Regions from separate parts of the Homo sapiens genome. Here region 1 is linked to region 2. Evidence: promoter capture Hi-C in human tissues and cell types (Jung and others, 2019). All regions are on one chromosome and are shown on one strand. Each heading gives the region's core, a stretch centred on a gene start or on the middle of the fragment in contact. The rest is flanking DNA. Distances are from core to core; before and after follow the strand shown. Region 1 holds the start of ZFP36 (ZFP36 ring finger protein). Region 2 holds the start of ACTN4 (actinin alpha 4).

What was found. Contacts are between HindIII fragments. The study calls those that stand out against the background at their distance.
Region 1: a contact is called between the fragment with the promoter of ZFP36 here and the fragment with the promoter of ACTN4 in region 2, in 1 of the 25 tissues and cell types used here (dorsolateral prefrontal cortex).

Annotation. Positions count from the first base shown.
Region 1 is chr19:39,405,074-39,409,384 of GRCh38, reverse strand. ZFP36 (ZFP36 ring finger protein) reads right to left here and starts at 2,538. Exons shown (of 2, transcript NM_003407.5): 1 at 2,457-2,538; 2 at 1-1,642. The coding sequence starts at 2,480. The coding sequence ends at 686. RefSeq lists enhancers at 210-847, 848-1,486, 1,487-2,124, 2,175-2,374 and a silencer at 2,495-2,944. The HindIII fragment of the contact is 20,061 bases long and covers 1-4,311 here.
Region 2 is chr19:38,645,254-38,649,601 of GRCh38, reverse strand. It overlaps ACTN4 (actinin alpha 4), which reads right to left and starts at 1,953. Exons shown (of 21, transcript NM_004924.6): 1 at 1,695-1,953. The coding sequence starts at 1,856. RefSeq lists an enhancer at 1-273 and silencers at 1-273, 232-430, 1,614-1,693, 1,924-2,113. The HindIII fragment of the contact is 19,413 bases long and covers 1-4,348 here.

The sequences.
Region 1 (4,311 bases), core at 1,289-3,788, 760 kb before region 2:
AAATGCCCAAAACACAAAAATAGACTTTTAAGGTAATAATATATATTACTAAATATATTATAGTCTACTTATAATAATTATATCGTCGTTTTCAATATTACAAAAAAAGGAAGAAAAATACAAGGGAAGCAGACGACCCAATATATATAAATACTATAAAATCATATTAGAATAAATAAAGTCGTCATAAATAAAGGGCCCATTGATTTATGGGTGGGGTTTGGCAACGGCTTTGGCTACTTGCTTTTGGAGGGTAATTTGAGCACCAGGATTCCCCCTCAGGAGAGGTTCCAGTTACCAGGAGACACTGGAACCTCAGGTCTATAAAAACTGGAGGGGCAGTGAAGGCCTATTATTCACAGCACATAAGATTCTAGGAGACAGATTTGGGCAGGGAAGAGGTGGGGGAGAGGGTTCATTGCCTCCCTTAAATATGCTACAATTTTTTTTCCCCCAAGAACCTCGGAAGACACTCCATCCCCCACCATCATGAATACTGAGCTTGCACACTTGGGGACCTGCCCCAGCGTGAGGTCAGGGGAGTGGGTTAATGCATTCTGGAAAAGGGGATTACTTGATTACTGTCCCCCAAGTCCCCACAGCCCTGGGGTCCATGCAGAGACCACAGTGCAAGAGACGTGGCTCCCCGCTGAGATCCAGCTGATCTGACCGGGCAGTCACTTTGTCACTCAGAAACAGAGATGCGATTGAAGATGGGGAGTCGCCGGGGGGCTGCCACGGGCTGGGGTGGTGCAAAAACTCCCGCCTCGAAGACGGGAGAGTCAGAGCCCCCCAGGCTGCTGCCGCTGCTGGCATATTCATCAGGGTCGGATCCCAGGGACTGTACAGAGGGGGTCCGAACCAGGCCACCCAAGGGCCCCCAGACGCTGATAGGAGTGGCCCTTCGGCAGGAGGGGCAACAGACTGGGGTGGGGTCTCTTCGAGCCAGGGGGGTGCCAGGGGCAGCAGAGAAGGCAGAGGGTGACAGTGGAAGGTCCCCAGGTGGTGGTGGGGAGCTGGAGGGCGAGAAGGAGCTGGAGGACAGGGAAGGGCCGGCCAGGCCTGGTGGTGGTGGTGAGGTCCGGCGGCCAGAGGGCAGGCCGGAGAAGCTGATGCTCTGGCGAAGCACAGGAGGGTGGCCCGGGGCCGCCAGGTCTTCGCTAGGGTTGTGGATGAAGTGGCAGCGAGAGCCGTAGGGGCAGCGGCCCTGGAGGTAGAACTTGTGACAGAGTTCCGTCTTGTATTTGGGGTGGCGATTGGCCTGGCGCAGCTCGCCCAGGCCATGGGCAAACTGGCACTTGGCCCCGTAGCGGCAGCGCCCACTCTCTGAGAAGGTCCGACATAGCTCAGTCTTGTAGCGCGAGGGGGTGGTGGAGGTTGCAGTGGGCGAAGTGGGTGAGGGTGACAGCTCAGGGCCCAGGCGGGGAGCCAGCGGTGCGAAGCCAGGGGGTGGGGGCACCCAGCCACAGCTGCGGCCCTCCACTAGGCTGGTGGAGCGGCCAGGCAGGCGGGAGGTGACCCCAGACGGGCTGGAGTCGGAGGGGCTCAGGCTCCAGGGTCCCGAGGAGCCCCAGCCTGGGCTGGACTCAGTCCCTCCATGGTCGGATGGCACGGGCACGTCAGGGCTCAGCGACAGGAGGCTCTGCGGAAATGGGTCGGTTAAGGCACCTGAAAATGCAGGGCGACGCCCCACCCCAGCTGCAGGGAACTAGAGCTTGCCAGGCCGGTTTGTGGGCTCCCCGCCTGAGCCCCACCCGCCCGCAGAAACCCCTGGGTTCCGGATGCCAGGAACCCAGAGTTGGAGGTTCTGAGTTTACCCACCACCGAGGCCTTATCCCGAGGGACCCAGGAATCCCGGCTTCCCCGGCTGGACCAAGAGGGGGACCCCGAAGTCAGGGCGCACCACTGTTTCCCAATTTTGGGTCTCTTGTCCTCCCCGGATATGACCCACGCGTCGGGATCTCCAGTTTCACAACTGGAGAAACCGGGCAAAGTTGACCTGGAAGTCCGGATTGCTTCGGTTTTAGGGTTCTCTGTCTCTACGGTCAGGGACTGGAGAGACAGAAGTCGGATCCCCCCACCCTGAGACTTCAGCCCCAGAGACGCCTCCGCGCAAAACCACGCCCTCAGCAACGACTAGGGGTGAGCCAGGTATGGGGGCCACTTCCGCCTCCAGGCAGCCTCGGTCTGAGAAAAGTTCTCCGACTTTCCACTTGCATGGGCCGCCCCACCCATGTTTGAGCGAAGAGCCGGGTGTCGCGGGTTCCATTTTCACCTCCAAATCACCAAGCTGGTCTGAGCGGGAGGCAGGGGCCCCAGGCTGGAGGGCGCGGCGCTAGGGAGCCCCAGTTGGAGAAGGGAGGCAAGCGTCCCGGGCTGGAGTTTGCGGCGCTAGAGAGGTGGGGACTCGGACTCAGGCATGCAGGTACCGGGGATGCCGTGCGGCGGGGACTCACCTCGTAGATGGCAGTCAGATCCATGGTGTAACGGTTGGCCATGAGGGGTGTCGGCCGAGAGTGGGAGCGCTGAAGTCAGGCTGAGGCTGGCACCGAGAGCCGGCTACTTATAGGAAACTGCAAGCACGGGGCGGGGCCGGGGCCGGGGCCGGGGGCGGGGCAGGAGGGGCGCTTCCCGGACGCGCGCCCCCGGCGCAGCCTGGCTGGCCCTGGACTGGTTCCCTTCCGCCCGGCCCTGGGCCAGGACGCGCCTGAGCTTGGCCGGTGGACAGCCGTGACCGAGCGGGGAATGCGTGGGGAAGGGGTGGGGGTGCGGATGGGGGGACGCCTGCCCAGTTTTCAAAGCTGGAGACTGAGGCTTGTAGAAGGAAACTGGGGCGGAGGTGGGGGCAGGGCCCCAGGGGCAATTGACAAGAGCAGAAGCCCGATGGGGGTGCGCGTGCGACACAGACGGATGGGGGCGGGGAGAGACGCAGAGGGGTACAGACAGGCAGACAGGCAGAGAGAAAAACATCGAGAGAGACACACACACCAAGAGACATACAGAGAGAGATAGACAGGGTGAGGAAGGGAGGGAAGACGGGGAGACAGAGACAGTCCCAGAGACAGATTCAGAGGGAGAAGAGGGTTGGGAGGATCACAAAAAGAAACAGAAAGGGGCTGAGCGCAGTGGCTCACACCTGTGATCCCAGCACTTTTTGTGTTTTTCTTTCCTTTTTCTTCTTCTTTTTTTTTTTTTTTGAAAGACGGGGTTTCCCTATGTTGCCCAGGCTAATCTCCAGCTCCGGGGCTCAAGCGATCCTCCCACCTCCGCCTCCCAAAGAGCTGGAATTACAGGTGTGAGCCACCAAGCCCGGCCAATCCCAGTACTTTCAGAGGATGAGGCAGGTGGATTACCTGAGATCAGGAGTTCAAGATCAGCCTGGGCAACAGTGAGATCCCATGTCTACAAAAAATACTATTTAAAAAAATTAAAAAGAAAAAGAAACTGGACAAAAAGGAGAAAGACTGTGAGAAATAAGCACTTACGGAAAGAAATCTGCAGAGCAAAGTGCCAAGAAAGAGCCAGCAGGCCTTGGAGGGGAATTCTCTGAGAACTGCCTGCCTTGTGTGGTCTCACTCCTAAACAGCCCAGACAGATAAGGAGACCTGGACTGCTCTCCCTCTCCCCACTTGCTGGGGTTGGGTGGGTGAGTGAGTGGGTTGGGTGGGGTCCAGGATACCTGGCAAGGCTGAAAAGGGGCCTCCTTTCCCAATTCACAGGGCGGCTCTAGCCCCCTCACCCTCGGGCGGATGATCTCTTCTAGGCTGAGTTAAGGAGAACTCACCTGGGCTGAGTTCTAAGTACTTTACGCACATTAATCCTAATGCCAGGTGGTATGCCCATTTAAGGCAGGAGGAAACCAAAGTGAAGTTACTCTCCTGCCCGGCTCACACCTGTAGTCCTAGCACTTTGGGCGCCCAAGGCAGGCGGATCACTAGAGCTCGGAGTCTGAGACTAGCCTGGGCAACACGGCGAATCCCCATTTCTACAAAAATGCAAAAATTAGCTGAGTGTGGTGGCGCACACCCTGTGGTCCCGCTACTCGGGGGCGGGGAGGGAGCAGGCTGGGGTGGGAGAGTCGCTTGAACCCAGGAGGCAGAGGTTGCAATGAGCCGAGATCAGGCGACTGCACTCCAGCCTGGGCCACAGAGCGAGACTCCCTCTCAGGGGGAAAAATAAAGTTACTCTCCTAGTTCGAGCTAGCAAATGGCACAGGCCTCATACTAGGGTCTGAAATTATGTCGAGGTTTGCCCTCTGAGAAAACTCAAGATTGGCAAGGTGGAGGTCTTTCACTATAACTGATGGTTGCA
Region 2 (4,348 bases), core at 704-3,203:
AACTCTACACACATCCCTCTTTATTAACAGAATCACCGCAGGGAACCCTCGGATCCCTTTGCATTTTGCAGATAACAAAACTGCCCGGAGAGTTCAAGGGTCTTGTCCAAGGCCACAGAGCGAATCAGTAACAAATCTGGAAAGAAAATCCAGATCTCCAGATCCCACGAAATGCTTCCAACTTCAAGTACCTCCCACCCATTTCACGCACAAAACTTCTGAACAACCCCTTCCCCCCACACACACCCACTCACCACGCTCCTTTCTTTAGCTCTTCCTGCACACACTCAGAGCTCCCCCCTCAACCACACTGGATTTATCCCCCCCCCACAGACACTGACACCTCGCTCGGGGATCCCACTCCACTTCTGATCACCTTTTCACTGCTGTGGGGCCCTACCAAGTTGCCCCCCCCGCCCCCCAAAAAAACAGTGCCACCTGAACACAGTCTCTGCTTCAGGATCCCTTCACCTACCTCCGGTCTCTCCAAAAAAGACACAATTCTTCCTGGACACTCTCAACGCTTCCTCCCCAAACTCATTCTGCCTGCACGACACACACACGCTCTCCAGTCCCGGGACTGCACCTCCAGGAGCCAGCACCCCCTCCTCAAATTCCTTTCTCAGTCTATCCATTACGCATTCCCTTTCTAATGAGACTTTCATTTTCCTAAACGAACCTCTCTCCCATTATCCACCATTCCAGCTCACCCTCCCTCCCACCGATCTCACCTTCTCCCTCTACACTTCCTCATTCTCTCCAACGCTTTAGCTTTTCAGCTTCCCATCAATTCTTTAGAAATCCCTCCCCAAATTATCCCCACTCTCCGTATCCCCTCTACTTCGGCTTCTCCATCCCTCATCAATTCCTCTTATTATTCCTCCTATCTCTTAATCTTCTCCCCTTTGGAACAGGGCACCACAAATAAATCTCACCCCCTTCAAAAACGTCTGATTCACGGGCCCCTTAACTTCTTCCTTCCGCACCCCACCCTCCTCAGACCCCCAGTCCTGGCACCTCTACCCTCCTCACACCCTAAGCCCATGTCTTTTCATGCTCAATTCTACCCTTAGCCCCTGTTTTCATCTTCCCAGCCTCCCTAGTCTTCCCACCCGTCTTCAGACCCCACAATCTCCACTCCATCCTCACACTTGATTCTTCATCCCCTTTATAACTCCCCCAACCTGAGGCTCCCCCAATTCCAATCTCCTTCAGATCTTTCTGCTCTCCAAATAACCAACCCCTCCACACTCAAGCTCCTCCTCACACTTCCCAGACCCAGAAATTCCCTTCTCAGCCTCCCCTGATTCTCCTCCCAGCACCCCCAACCCATGCTCCGACCCTTCAAGCCCGCCTCGGATCCCAGTTCCATTTCAGCCTGCCCAGTCATCTCCTCGGTTTCCCCTAATGGCACGCCCAGACCCTCCAAATCCTTCATCAGCCTTCCCGATTCCTTTTATTTGACTCCCATATTCCCCACCCAGCCGCCAATTCTCTTTTCAGATTCCCAATTCCTTCCTCTAGCTCGGCGATTCCTCCTCAGGACTCCAATTCCCTTCCCGGACCCGCCAATTCCTTCTCGGGACCCCCCCGTTCCCATCACAGACGCTCCAGTTACCTTTCAGGACCTCCCACCCCTCCCCGGGCCCCCTCAGAAAAGCCCCTCCAGCCCGTCCGGCCCGCGGGCCGCGCACCTTGCGCTGCTGCTTCTCCCAGGCCGGGTCCAGCAGCAGGTCCCGGTCCCAGTCGTCCTCCTGGGCCATGTAGTCGCCCATGCTGCCCCCGCCGCCAGCGCCATTGCCCGCGCTGCTGGGGCCGTACTGGTACGACTGGTTCGCCGCGTGGTAGTCCACCATTCCGCCGCCTCTCGCTCGCCCACCAGCCTGTCCGCTCCCGCCTCAGCTCCCGCCCCTCTGCCCGAGCCGCCGCCGCTACCGCCGCTTCAGCTGCTTCAGCCCGCCCTCCGCCCGCGCCTGCGCACTGCCCGCCGCGCCTGCGCACAGCGCCGAGGTTGCCGCCCTCCCGCGCGCGCGCGCCTGCCAAACCAGAAAAGGCACCAAGGCCGCGCTCCGGAGCTTGGCGCCTGCGCAGAGTCCCGCTTCCTGGCCGCCCGACTCAGCCCGGGGGCGAGCCGCGCCCCCTCTCCGGCGTGAACGCGCGCGTCGTTCGCGTATGGGCGGGGCCAGATCATGAATGATTCATAAGGGCAGGCCCCGCCATCGGACCTGAACCAGCTCAGGCTTGGAATGCACTGCACCGGGTTCCCATTCAGCGACACAAATTCAACAAATATTTATTGAACACCTATTCTGTGCCAGACTATGTTTTACGCAGGCACTAAAAACAGAAAAAAATCCCAACTTTCATGAAACTACCTTCTAGTAAAGGAAGCCACATACACACAAATCTACTTTTATTTTTATTATTTTTTGAGACGGAGTCTCGCTCTGTCTCCCAGGCTGGAGTGCAGTGGCGCGATCTCGGCTCACTGCAACCTCCGCCTCCCGGATTCAAGCAATTCTCCTGCCTCAGCCTCCCGAGTAGCTGGGAACACAGGCATGCTCCACCACACCCGGCTAATTTTTGTATTTTTTTAGTAGAGACGGGGTTTCACCATGTTGGCCAGGCTGGTCTTGAACTCTTGAGCTCAAGCGATCCTCCCGCCTCAGCCTCCCAAAGTGCTGGAATTACAGGCGTGAGCCACCGCGCCCAACCAACACACAAATTTTTTTTTTTGAGACGGAGTTTCGCTCTTGTTGCCCAGGCTGGAGTGCAATGGCGTGATCTGGGCTCACTGCAACCTCCGCCTCCCAGGTTCAAGCTATTCTCCTGCCTCAGCCTCCCGAGTAGCTGGGATCACAGGCATGTGCCACCACTCCTGGCTAATTTTGTATTTTTAGTAGAGACGGGGTTTCTCCATGTTGGTCAGGCTGGTCTCAAACTCCCGACCTCAGGTGATCCGCCCACCTCGGCCTCCCAAAGTGCTGGGCTTACAGGCATGAGCCACTGCGCCTGGCCTCAACACTCAAAATTTTAAAAAATATGTAGACAGGCACAGGGGCTCACACCTGTAATCCCAGCACTTTGGGAAGCTGAGGCGGGAGGATGGCTTGAGCCCAAGAGTTCAAGGCCAGCCTAGGCAACATAACAAGAACCTGTCTCTACAAGAAATGTAAAAATTCACTGGGCATGGCTGTGTGCACCTGTAGTCCCAGCTACTCAGGAGGCTGAGGAAGGGACATCACTTGAGCCCAGGAGTTCCAGTCTGCAGTGAGCTGTGATCACACCAATGCACTCCAGAAGCGAAATCCTGTCTCAAAAATATACATAAAAGTAAAAAATAGGTAGTATTGTATATTCCAAGGTGTTGAGTATTTGGAGAAAAATCAAGCATGGGCTGGAATGCAAATAAACTACTCAGGTAGGCTTCATGGAGAAGGCAGACATTTAAACAAAGGTGCGAGCCACTGCATCAGGAAGCATCTTAAATTTAAATATTCAGCCAGGCACTGGTGGCTTACTCTTGCAATCCCAGCACTCTGGGGAGTCAAGGCTGGAAGAGTGCTTGAGCCCAAGAGTTTGAGGCCAGACTGGGTAACATAACAAGATCTCATCTCTACAAAAAAATGTTTACATTAAAAATAAATGGCCGGGCGCAGTGGCTCATGCCTGTAATCCCAGCACTTTGGGAGGCCGAGGCAGGCAGATCACGAGGTCAGGAGTTAGAGGCCAGCCTGGCCAACATGGTGAAACCCCGTCTCTACTAAAAATACAAAAATTAGCCGGGCTTGGTGGCATGCACCTGTAATCCCAGCTACCCAGGGGGCTGAGGTAGGGGAATCACTGGAACTCGGGAGGCAGAGGCTGCAGTAAGCCGAGATCGCGCCACTGTACTCCAGCCTGGGCGACAGAGCAAGACTCCGTCTAAAATAAAAATAAAAATAAATAAATAAATATCCGGCCAGGTGTGGTGGCTCACGCCTGTAATCCCAGCACTTTGGGGGGCCGAAGTGGGCGGATCACCCCAGGTCAGGAGTTCAAGACCAGCCGGGCCAACGACTCCGTCTCTACTAAAAATACAAAATTAGCCAGGCATAGTGGCACATGCCTGTAATCCCAGCTACTCAGGAGGCTGAGGTAGGAGAATAGCTTGAACCTGGGAGACGGAGGTTGTGGTGAGCCAAGATTGCACCATTGTACTCCAGCTTGGGCAACAAGAGCGAAACTCCATCTCAAATAATAATAATAATAAATATCCAAAATAGAGTTCCTGATCTTCCCCCCAAGCTTGGTCATCCCATCCCACAGTCATCCCTCTTCAATTCGTGCACCTCCAGCCTTGCAGTTG